Regions from separate parts of the Homo sapiens genome. Here region 1 is linked to region 2. Evidence: promoter capture Hi-C in 16 types of primary human blood cells and fetal thymus (Javierre and others, 2016). All regions are on one chromosome and are shown on one strand. Each heading gives the region's core, a stretch centred on a gene start or on the middle of the fragment in contact. The rest is flanking DNA. Distances are from core to core; before and after follow the strand shown.

Region 1 (5,286 bases), core at 1,468-3,967, 460 kb after region 2:
AGAGAGGAGTGGGTGAACAGCGGGCCGTGCCTGTAAGAAAGGGGGTGAAGAGTGAGCATGCAGCACTGGGGGAAAGCGGGCTTTGGAACGCACACACACACACACACACGTGCACATATGCACACTTGCATGCATGCACACAGGCACAAACGCTCACATGCTCCAATCAGAACAGTCAGTCACGGAGCATCAGCCTGGTCAGGGTAAGCCAGAGGCTGAACTCTGGGGTCCCCTGCTGGTCATTGCTGTTGGACTCCAAGGTAAACAGAAATTTCCCGACTCCAGATCCTCGGCCCCTGAGGGCTTCGGCTCCCCTATCTTCTTGATTTTAGACTCAGAGCAGGAGTGGTGCAAGCCTCTGTCTGGGCATTTAGCCCAGGGCCCTGTGAGCCTGAAACTTGGAGCCAAGGATGGTAGAGTGCAAAGACCAAGGGATCAGGAGCCAGACAGACCTGGGTTCAAGTCCCAACTGCTGCTTCCCAAGCGGACAGCCTTAGGGAAGTGTCTTTAACCTCTCTAAGGCTCATTGTGACATCTATAAAAGCAGGAAATAATGCCTTTTTTGGCAAGGATGGTGCGAAGCTTAGATGAGCTGGACCACATGTTAACTTTGACATACCACACATATGTGGAGGGCCGAACCTCGTGCCACAGCCATGACATAGGTAAGTTTCCTTTGTGTTTTCACTTAGCTATCCCCAGCCCAACCTCCTGCTTCATGCAGGAATTCCCTAACCAGCCTCTGCTAGAACATTCCAGCAACAGGCAACCCACCACATTATGCTCTTCCCACTGTTTGGACATCTTTAAGAGTTACAGTGGACTTCCTATCTTGAACTAAAATCTCTCTCCCTGTGGCTTCCACTGCCAGACAGAGTCCAGCCCTTCAGAATACAGGACCACTCTCCAGCTCTCTGGAAGCAGCCACCATGGCTTCCCTGGGTGCCTTTGTCTAATCCAAACTGATCTTTCCACTCTTGTTCCAGTGTTTTCCATTGCCTCTGCCCTGCTGGCCAAATTCTTCCGGGCACAGCTCATTTTTGTGTATGTCCTTTTTAAAATGGGATGTCCAGAGAAGCACAGCACACCCTACATAAGAGCCAACTGTCCAAATTCCAGGTCAGACTGAGGCTGAGCCAACCTCATCATGGTCATGACACAGAAGCCTTTTCATCAGGTCCAGTCTCTGGCACAGCCAGTCCAAGCACACCCACACAAGAGCCACGTTCACCACGGTCTTTAGAGCAACCCACCAGAAGAGTCTCAAGGGCACCCTTTAGAAGAGATGCCCAAGACCCAAAGTGGGCCTCTTTCTCCACCTACGATTCTCTCTTCTCCCAGTGAGATCTGAAGTCCATTTCCCTGGGAGGTGGGGTCAGGACCCTGGACAGAAGCTGCTCCTGGCTTCTTAGGCATTTGAAGGGAAGGCATGCAGTGACTGGGGGCTACCACAAGGCTCTGGGAGAAGTCAGGGAGGGAGCAGTCAGACAGCTCTGTGAGCGGGAAAATGTTGGTGTGGCGGTCACTGCATTTCCCCTCTCCTCCCTCACACTGGAGAGCTGTGAGATCGCCTTAGGGACCCTGGCTCCTGGGGTGAGAGATGTAAAGGACCCCCCTTTTCTTGGCCTCCCCCTTCCCCTGGTTTCAGTTTCTGGGTCCAGAAACTGAGTGCAGTCAGCATAGACAACAGCCCTGGGATCCCCTCACTGTCCTTGACAAGCACTGGAAGCCAGCAGGTGGGTAGAGGGCTCCTGGAGGGTGAAAGCAGAGGGCTACAGCGGGGTCAGGGCCCTGCGGAGAGCTCAGGGTATGTTTGGTGGGGACGTAATGCTGATCCTGCATCTCCTCTTTGACTGCCTTGAACAGCTAATCAATGAATTCATTACTCAATCAGCAGGAAGTCACCAGCCCCTTCCTGGGGACCCTCTCACTTGGGTTCACTCAGCATGTTTCAAAGCACTTTCTGTGCCACCTCTGGGCCCACGCTGTAGGATCAGCTCTGCCCAGAGCTCATCGAGTGACCTTGGGCAAGTCACCTTTCCTCTCTGGGTCTCAGGTTCCTTATTAATAAACTAAAAGGATTGGACTAGATGATCTCTTAGGGTCCTTTCGGCTCTGATATTCCATGGCTCTGTGAGCTGGGAGACTGCAGGTGGGTGGATGACAAAGCTGACTGGCCCCTTTTTTGGAAAGAAAAAGGAAAAAATGACGAGGGCATCTGCACTGGATGGTGCCAGGAGTGGGACTGTGCAGGTTTCAGCTAAAAGTGCCCTGGATGGTGGCAATAACCAGAGTGTGCGGCAAGGGCAGTAGAGGCAGCAGAGCCACAGACCAGGAAGCCAGCCAGGCCTAGCCACCGTGTCCCCTCCCTGCGTCAGAAATCCCTACCTTTGCCTCTACTGATGCCTCTTGGATCCTGCCCTGGTCCAGTCCAGAGCTGAGTGGCAGGATGGCTGAAGTCCCCACTCCCCGCCTCTGGCCCCCAGGCTATGACAGCAGCTGCCAGAGGGGGTAAGAAGACTGGGGGCCTAGGTGCAAGCTGTGAGTACGTGTGGCGTGTGTGTGCCTCAGACAGCAGCTGAGCAGCCTGCACCAATCTCAGAGGCACTGCAATGCAGTGGTCGGATTTTTTTTATTAGTTTTTTTTTTTTTCCTAAAAGTCCTCATTTCCCAGGGAAATGCGCAGCCAAATGCTTTAAAAAAGGAGTGGCCAGATTGCCTCAAAATGTGTCAACCCCTCCCAATTCAGGGTGCTGGCACCCTCCTCTTGCCCCTGCCAGTGTGTGGCCCCCTGAACCCTGCTCCTGGTGAAGTCAGGAGGTCTAGGTAGAAGGAGTATGAAGTGGCCGATTTTCCCTTCCTAAAAGCTGGGACACAGACTGATTGAACTTAAATGCTTGCCAGATTGGAGAGCTTCTCAATTTCCCAGTCCCTAGGGGATCCGGCATAAGCCTCCTTCACATAGAGGCAGAGGCCTTTAGACTCAAGAAAATCTCTGTCTCTCTTTCTGAATGAGTTTTTTGAGGGATGGAGGGAAAATGACAACACCCCTCCCCCTTTGGAGTATCAAATACCAAATCTGCTGCAGCATTCTCAGAAGGGCATGAAATTGACCACCCTGTCTCCTTCCCTGGTGGAAGGGACCCCTCCCCTTTCCCAATGCACAGCAAACTAATTCTGCACACATGCTACCTCTGTCCGTGTTCTTCTGATCTTGGGTTTCATTTTAAGGGAACTTTTTAGTCCAGCTCTGTTTTCCCCGTTAAAAAGGTGATGAGTTCAATCAGCTGTGAAAATAAATCCAGAAGAAGGGCTGAATGGAACCAGGGGCAGACCTATCCCTGCCAGCTCAGCCCCTCCCTTCCACCAAGCAGAGGGTTTCCCGGGACTCCAACTGCTGTGGAGTGACACTGGGGGCTCTTTGCTGACAGAAAGAGAGCGGCAAAAAGAGATAGCTTAGAAGTGTGGTCAGGCTGGCAGTGTGTGGCCAGTAAGTGGCATTTTAGCCTTGGAAACGACTCTGAAAGCCCCTTGCAGGGGAAGTAGAGCTGCCCCTGCAGTCTCCGTCCTGGCTCTCAGGTGCCCAATTTGGGCACAGCAGGTGGTGAGCATCACAAGGTCCTAAGCTCTCTCCCCATGACCTGGAGGGGCTGCGAGAGCCCCATCTGCCCTTCTCCTCTAATGTTGGGTCTCTCTTGGGCACAGATGGTTCTAGCTTAGGGGCAGCCAGGGCATAGCCGAGCCAATCTGGGTACAGCCCAGGGAGAGGTGCTGCCAGTCAGCCCATCTGTCGAGCAGGTGACAGCTGCTGACATGTAAGTTGGGGGTGAGGGGTGGGGAGCTGGGCTGGTAGGGTCAGAGCTACTACCTGCAGGACCGCTCCTCCCTGCCATTAAACCCCCTGGGTCCCAGGCAGGAGGTACCTCCAGACCTGAGCTTGGCACGGAGGTCCTTCAATGAAAACAAACTGATTCTCTGCCCAAGAATCTCTGTCCCCTCTGCTTCGTGTATTTCCATCAAAACACAGGCTGGAGCAATGCCCATTGCCAGTTGAGGTGACAGCTCTCTCCTCCTGGGGTCAGGACAAGGGGCTGGGTTCTGAGGACAGTAAGGGAGACCTGAGTTAGCCACAAGGGGGAACATCTCACCAGAAAAGCAGAAGGAACTAGCAGAGTAGTACAGTGTGATATATACAAGCTGGACTTCGGTCCTGACTATGCTACCTTTTAGCTGCATGACATGGGGCAAGTTCAATAACTTGTCAGAACCTCAGTTTCCTCATCTGTAAGAGGAAAAGTAATACTTCATAAGGCTGCTGGGAGGATCACATGACAATGCATGTATGCCCTCAGCTAATGGTGGCTACAACTTCTGTTACCGCTACTACCCCAGCAGGTGAGAAAGACAGGAATCTCTTCCACAGCAGCTTTCACCAAATAGCTCCCAGACTTTAACATGCATTGAAAATCTTCTGGAAACTTCCATAAAGTTCAGATTCCCAGGCCCAACTCCAGAGATTTTGATTCAGCAAGCTCAGTTCTGGTGCTCCAGGAGATTTTGACATGGTGATCAGTGGACCATCTTTATTTTTTTATTTTTAAACATTTTTAATTTAAAAAATATTTTTATAGAGATGGGGTCTTGCTATTCTGCCCAGGCTGGTCTTGAACTCCTGGGCTCAAGCAATCCTCCCACTTCAGCCTCCCAAAGTGGTGGGATTACAGGTATAAGCCACCGCGTCATGCCGGTGGATCACATTCTGAGAAGCACTTCCCCAGAGGAAAGGAGAGATGGTTCTGAGCCCATCGCTCCCAGGTAATTAGATGTGGGCGCCTATGCTCGCAGCACATTGCAAGCTTCGTCTCCCCCAGCCTTCCTTCTATCCGGACTTAAGGACTCTCTAGTGCTTTGCTTCTTCTGCCACAGTATCATACTTCTGCATCCCTTTCCTCAAGTCACTTAATCATTCAGCACATGCTTATTGAGCATCTACTCCACTCCAGACATGGCTCCAGGTGCTGGGGACAGAGCACTGAATGAGATAAAAATCCGTGCCCTCATGGACCATATAATTTGTGTATTCATTGATTCAATCAATGCTATGGAGTGCTGACTCCTGCTGGGCACTGTGCTGGATGCTAAGGTTAAGTGCACAGCCCTTCCTGTCAGAAAAGGGCCGTGGAAGAGATAGCCCTTAGGACCACCTGCCCCTGGGAACCCTCAGTTCCAAATCCCAAGCTAGAGGGCAGGGTCCAGCCAGTTATCACTTGCCACCTACTGGGTGGC
Region 2 (4,888 bases), core at 236-2,735:
TCTCCACCCAAAAAATACGAAAACCAGTCAGGCGTGGCGGCATGCGCCTGCAATTGCAGGCACTCGGCAGGCTGAGGCAGGAGAATCAGGCAGGGAGGTTGCAGTGAGCCGAGATGGCAGCAGTACAGTCCAGCTTCGGCTCGGCATCAGAGGGAGACCGTGGAAAGAGGGGAGAGGGAGAGGGAGAGCGAGAGCGGAGGCTCGTCTTCTACTTTCAGCGCCATGGCACCAACTGGAGGCCTAGGGTCAAGGTCTGCTCATTTCTTGGTCCAGCTATGCAGCCCCTCTAGCCCTGGGAGGTTATTGGGAGAGTGGAGAGGTGTTGATGAGAGGATCCTGGCATGTGGAAAGACAGGGTGGAAGAAATCCTGGATGCCTCTGAGGTCCCAGGTTTCTAGTATACCCTCTGGCTGGACCATGGGGAGATAGGGCAAAAAAAGGAAGGAGGGGGGCCCACAGCCTGCTCTAGCTCTGCGCGGGGGCTTGGCTCAGCATGGGAGAGACCAGAGAGAGCAAGAGGCTGCATGAAGGAAGCACAGCCAGCTCACTATGGTCTAAGGAGAGAACAGGGATTGACCTCAGTTTTAACCACCATGCCCTTTGCTCTCCAGGGCTCTGGGGCCGGCCCAGGTCAGCCACTTGGTGGGATTCCAGCCTCAGGGTGGCTGAGCTGCAGGTGCAGCACCCGGCCTCCAGGTGGCACCAATCCGCTTACTTTGAGGTGGGCTCTGACAACCAGCTGAGCTGCCCACAGTCCCTCAGACTCCCGAGGTCCTGGGAGCAGGGATCAAGGTGGTCCCCAGGCCGTAAACCTGACAGAGGCTGCAGGAGTGCATTTCCACCCAGGGTGCACTCAGCGGGTGTAACTCCACACCCGTTTCTTTGGAGTCAAGGCCCGGCCTCTCAGTGAGGAGACTGCTCCTGGTTGCCCACCGTCGGGTCATCCCAGCCTGCAGTGGAACCCTCCGCAGCCTGGCCTCTTCCAGGGTAGCCCCTCACTCCCCTCTCTCCTGTCCTAGCAGACAGGCCAGGGAGGGTGGACGAGTTCCAGCTCTGGGGATGTCCCATCAGCTGTGTCACCTTGAACAAATCATTTTGCCTCTTGGGTCTCAGTTTCCTGCAGTGTGAAACGTGGTGGAGGCATGAGGGGCAATGGGAGCCCCAAGGCCTCTTTCAGAGACCTCCTCTGGGTCCCATGTGACCTCGTGGCTGTCCCCAAAGGCAAGAGGGTCCCCAGCCCTGCGGCCAAGGCCCTGGGACACCCTATCCAAACAAATGCAGGTCTCTGACGGGCTGAGCTTTGCTCGCTTGGGTTTCTTTGCTTTCTTCCTTTTTTTTTTTTCTTTCCTGGATGAAATTCCTGCCAGCTCCGAAGGAAGGAGGGAAGAGGAGCGAGCCGCAGTGTAGAAAGTTTCCTTGACTCCTCCTCCGGCTGGGTCTCCCTCCCTTGCCAAGCCCAGCCTGTGAAACTGAATAACGAAGATCACTCAACAATGCCTGCCCCTCTCTGACTGCACCGTCCCGGCGCTCCCACCGCCGCCGCCGCCGCCCAATAGAGCCCCTGGGGCGGTCCCCACCGACGGTGCAGCCCGCCGGGACCGGGAGGAAGCAGCTGCGGCCATCGCGCCGTGCGTCCGCGCCCGGCCGCCAGGTGCCCCAGTAGCCCGACCGCCGAGATGCCCAGCCCGCCGGGGCTCCGGGCGCTATGGCTTTGCGCCGCGCTGTGCGCTTCCCGGAGGGCCGGCGGCGCCCCCCAGCCCGGCCCGGGGCCCACCGCCTGCCCGGCCCCCTGCCACTGCCAGGAGGACGGCATCATGCTGTCTGCCGACTGCTCTGAGCTCGGGCTGTCCGCCGTTCCGGGGGACCTGGACCCCCTGACGGCTTACCTGTGAGTACTGCCCGCCTGTCCCCGCCTGGTCCTGCGGGCTGCTGGCTAGCGCCCAGTCCCGGCCTCAGCAGGGCACCTGCTTGCTTGGTGCCCTGGGGCATGGGCATCCCGGAGAGGGTTTGCCCCCTTCCAAGTTGACCGTTGCGGGACTGGGGAGGGGAGAAGAGTCTGAGACTAAATACCAGGCGAGCAGGGAGACCGGGCTTCCCTGACTTGGCTTCCCCATTGGCCTCCGTGCTTGTGGGCTGACTATGGGAGCCCAGGCTTGGCGAGGTGGGTTCTGGACCCTGAGCGGGAGGGCGCGGGGCTGGCTGCTCCATCTCCTGTTGCTGCATTCTCTTCTAGCAGAGCAGTGCCCGGGATGGTGGCTGAGGGTAAAGCTGACAGAACTGGAGGTGGAGGTGAGGGGAGCGTGCCCCAGTAGGGTGGAAATAATGTCTGTTCTTCTGCCATGGTGAGGACAACAGGGCTGTCACACTGAGGCTGGGTGGCCTTCGTGGGGGCGGGGGGGGCGGGTTTCCTAGAAGCTGGGAGGGGGGCCTTATCCACTCTTGTCTCCTCAGAAAGGGACTCTGCCAGCACCATCTCCCTTCACTGGGGCCTCCTGGCTCCCCCAGGGGCCTCCCTAAAGTCATGTCCCAAGAGGCTGTGTTGGAGACACTAATTTGTGGGCAGGCGCCGAGGCTGAAAACCAGAGAACCATTTTTAGCGTCTGAGTTGGGGTGAGATGGCGCGTGAAGGGGACCCTACTGGGGGCAGCTGTCCTGTCTGTCTGGCTCATGGGAGCTTCCCCTCAGAGCTGGAGGGCTGGGGGCTCTGGCTGCTCACCACCTGGGCAGGAGGAGGGTGAGAGAGCACATTCCAGGCCACCCACCTGCACCCCCAGCCCCGCTCTGGGGCAAGGAAACCTCCTCCAGCCCAGCTCTGCAGGCTCTATCAACTTCCTCAGAGGAGCTGGGAGCAGGTGGGAAAGCCTGGTGGGGCCTTCTGCTGAGGGCTAGGATCCCAGAGTTCCTTCTGGCCTGAGAGAGGCTCCTTATGGCTTTGGGGTTCCAGCACATGGGAGCTTAGAGGAAGAGGAGGCTGGGTGAATCTTTATAGGGGCCTAGCAAGAATTTGTGGAACTAAAGATGCTCAGTGTTGGGAGTGTCCTGGTGGGAGGTAGAGGGTCCCAGAGGGCAACTCTTCATGGGGCTCCTCTCCAAATGTCCCTGTCCCCAGGTTGGGATGTCCCCCTCCACTCCAAAAGGCACAGGCTGTGGGCCAGGTAAGGGAGTGGGAAGAGAAAAATAATGTCCATCTAGAAGGACAAATGGAATCCTTCACAGTGCAGTAGGTGACGGCAGAGGCAATCATGGGAATAAAGGTACCAACTGCACAGAGCCTGGGCGCTCAGCATCTGGCAAAGCAGGGCAGGCTCCGGCCCCACCCTACACACAGGCCAGCCCCTCTTTCAGCAGTTTTCTATCCTGGGAGTATGTGACATTGGTTCATTTGAAGACAGGGTCCTGTGGCTAAAGAGTTTAGATGTGACTTCTGTGGAGCCTTTCTCTGGGTGAGCTGAAGGAAGGTCCCTTGCCTGGGTTGAAGGGGCAGGGGAGATAAGGCCTTCCAGAGCTTCCTTTCCCAGCATTAAGTCTTCCTAGACTGGTTAATGACCCTTTTTCTAGAAGGACTTGGGGAAGGAGGTACACTGTCACCTTTGGAATTCAAGCATCCTACCATCCATGCTGGCAGAAGTTTTTCCCACTAGCTTGCCACAATTCCCTCGGAGCTGTGAAGTCTGCATTTGGGTTCAGTGGAGGTGGGGTTTTCTGAGCTGGTCTGTGTCTTCCTGGGGATTGAGAAAGCCCCTCTCTCTCAAGACTCAGGGGATGCTTCTGAGAGTTGTGGAGAGAAGAGAGGGAGTGGGAGCTATAAAGAGTATGATGGGTCCTGAGGCAATATGGGGAATTTAGCAGTGGGGTCTGGAATATTGGAAGGAGGTGGCAGAGGACCGTGTCCCCTGCCCTGGGCTGGGGAGGGGTCCCATCTGGATGGTGCATGAAGGATTCCTACAGTTGTCCTGAGGGTGTCTCAGAGGAGGAATTTTCTTTCTTTGCCCTCTCTGGAGAACAGCTCTACCAGAAAGGCACCTGAAGGTGGGGTTGAGAGCTGGCATGCAGAAGAGCCAGGGTGGGGAAGTCTTGGGGCTCCTTTCTCTTTTCAGCGATGTTAGGAGATGTCCAGCTTGGCCCTGCCCCATGTATCCCAGCCCTTGCTGAGGAGAGCACAGATTCGCATCTGATGATATAATCAGCAGTGCCTCTCTCTGAGCCACTCAAACTTTGGTTCCTTCCTAGCTCTGCCACCTACTGAGAATCACTCACTGAACACCTCTAAGCCTCAGGTTCTTCATGTGTACATGGAGATGAGGAAGCAGGTTGCTGAGTGGATTAAATGAGATAATATGTTCAATGAAAGTCCCCAGAGTGCCTGACACCCGAGGGTAACTCTGAAATGGTGGCTAGTATTATCATGCCTCCTATGGGTGCTCCATGGAGGTGGAGGTAAACTACCAGGCCTCTCCACACCAGAAGAAAATTGAGCCTAGTGGGTGAGTGTAGAATTCAAGGGAATGGTTTGTGGCTGGAGGAAGAGAGCTGTGTGCTGGGGAGGTGACTGTCAGGGCAACTCTTGATCAATACTTGGCTGGTTCTGGGGACTTGGAGCCCAACCAGTTGGTGAAAATTGGGGGTTGGGGATCGGGAGGGAGAGTGGGGACTTAGGTCCTCCTGACACAGAGTTAAAATGAAAAATGTTAAAACACTTGGACATGCAGGAAGTAGCAGGCCAGAGAAGACTCGAAGATCCTTAGAAGAAGCCATAGACAGAACTATAGGAGGCGCCCAGGAGCTATGGGCTCCAGAAGGTACCCGCAAGTCCTCTTGCACATTCCTTGACCTGGTCTCAATAAAAATGACATCACATCTCTTCCCCCACTCCACGGCTGTGAGATTT

What was found. The method cuts DNA at HindIII sites, captures the fragments that hold promoters and counts their contacts. A CHiCAGO score of 5 or more calls a contact.
Region 1: a contact is called between a fragment that was not itself captured here and the fragment with the promoter of LGR6 in region 2, in 1 of 17 cell types (M2 macrophages). The highest score is 5.5, in M2 macrophages.

The regions. Positions count from the first base shown.
Region 1 is chr1:202,656,037-202,661,322 of GRCh38, forward strand. All of the region lies in intron 1 of SYT2 (synaptotagmin 2), which reads right to left. Among named protein-coding and RNA genes, the nearest start is that of SYT2, 52 kb to the right of the region's middle. RefSeq lists a silencer at 1,318-1,477 and an enhancer at 2,011-2,512. The HindIII fragment of the contact is 4,274 bases long and covers 581-4,854 here.
Region 2 is chr1:202,192,314-202,197,201 of GRCh38, forward strand. LGR6 (leucine rich repeat containing G protein-coupled receptor 6) reads left to right here and starts at 1,486. Exons shown (of 18, transcript NM_001017403.2): 1 at 1,486-1,888. The coding sequence starts at 1,677. RefSeq lists enhancers at 72-875, 570-619. The HindIII fragment of the contact is 23,199 bases long and covers 1-4,888 here.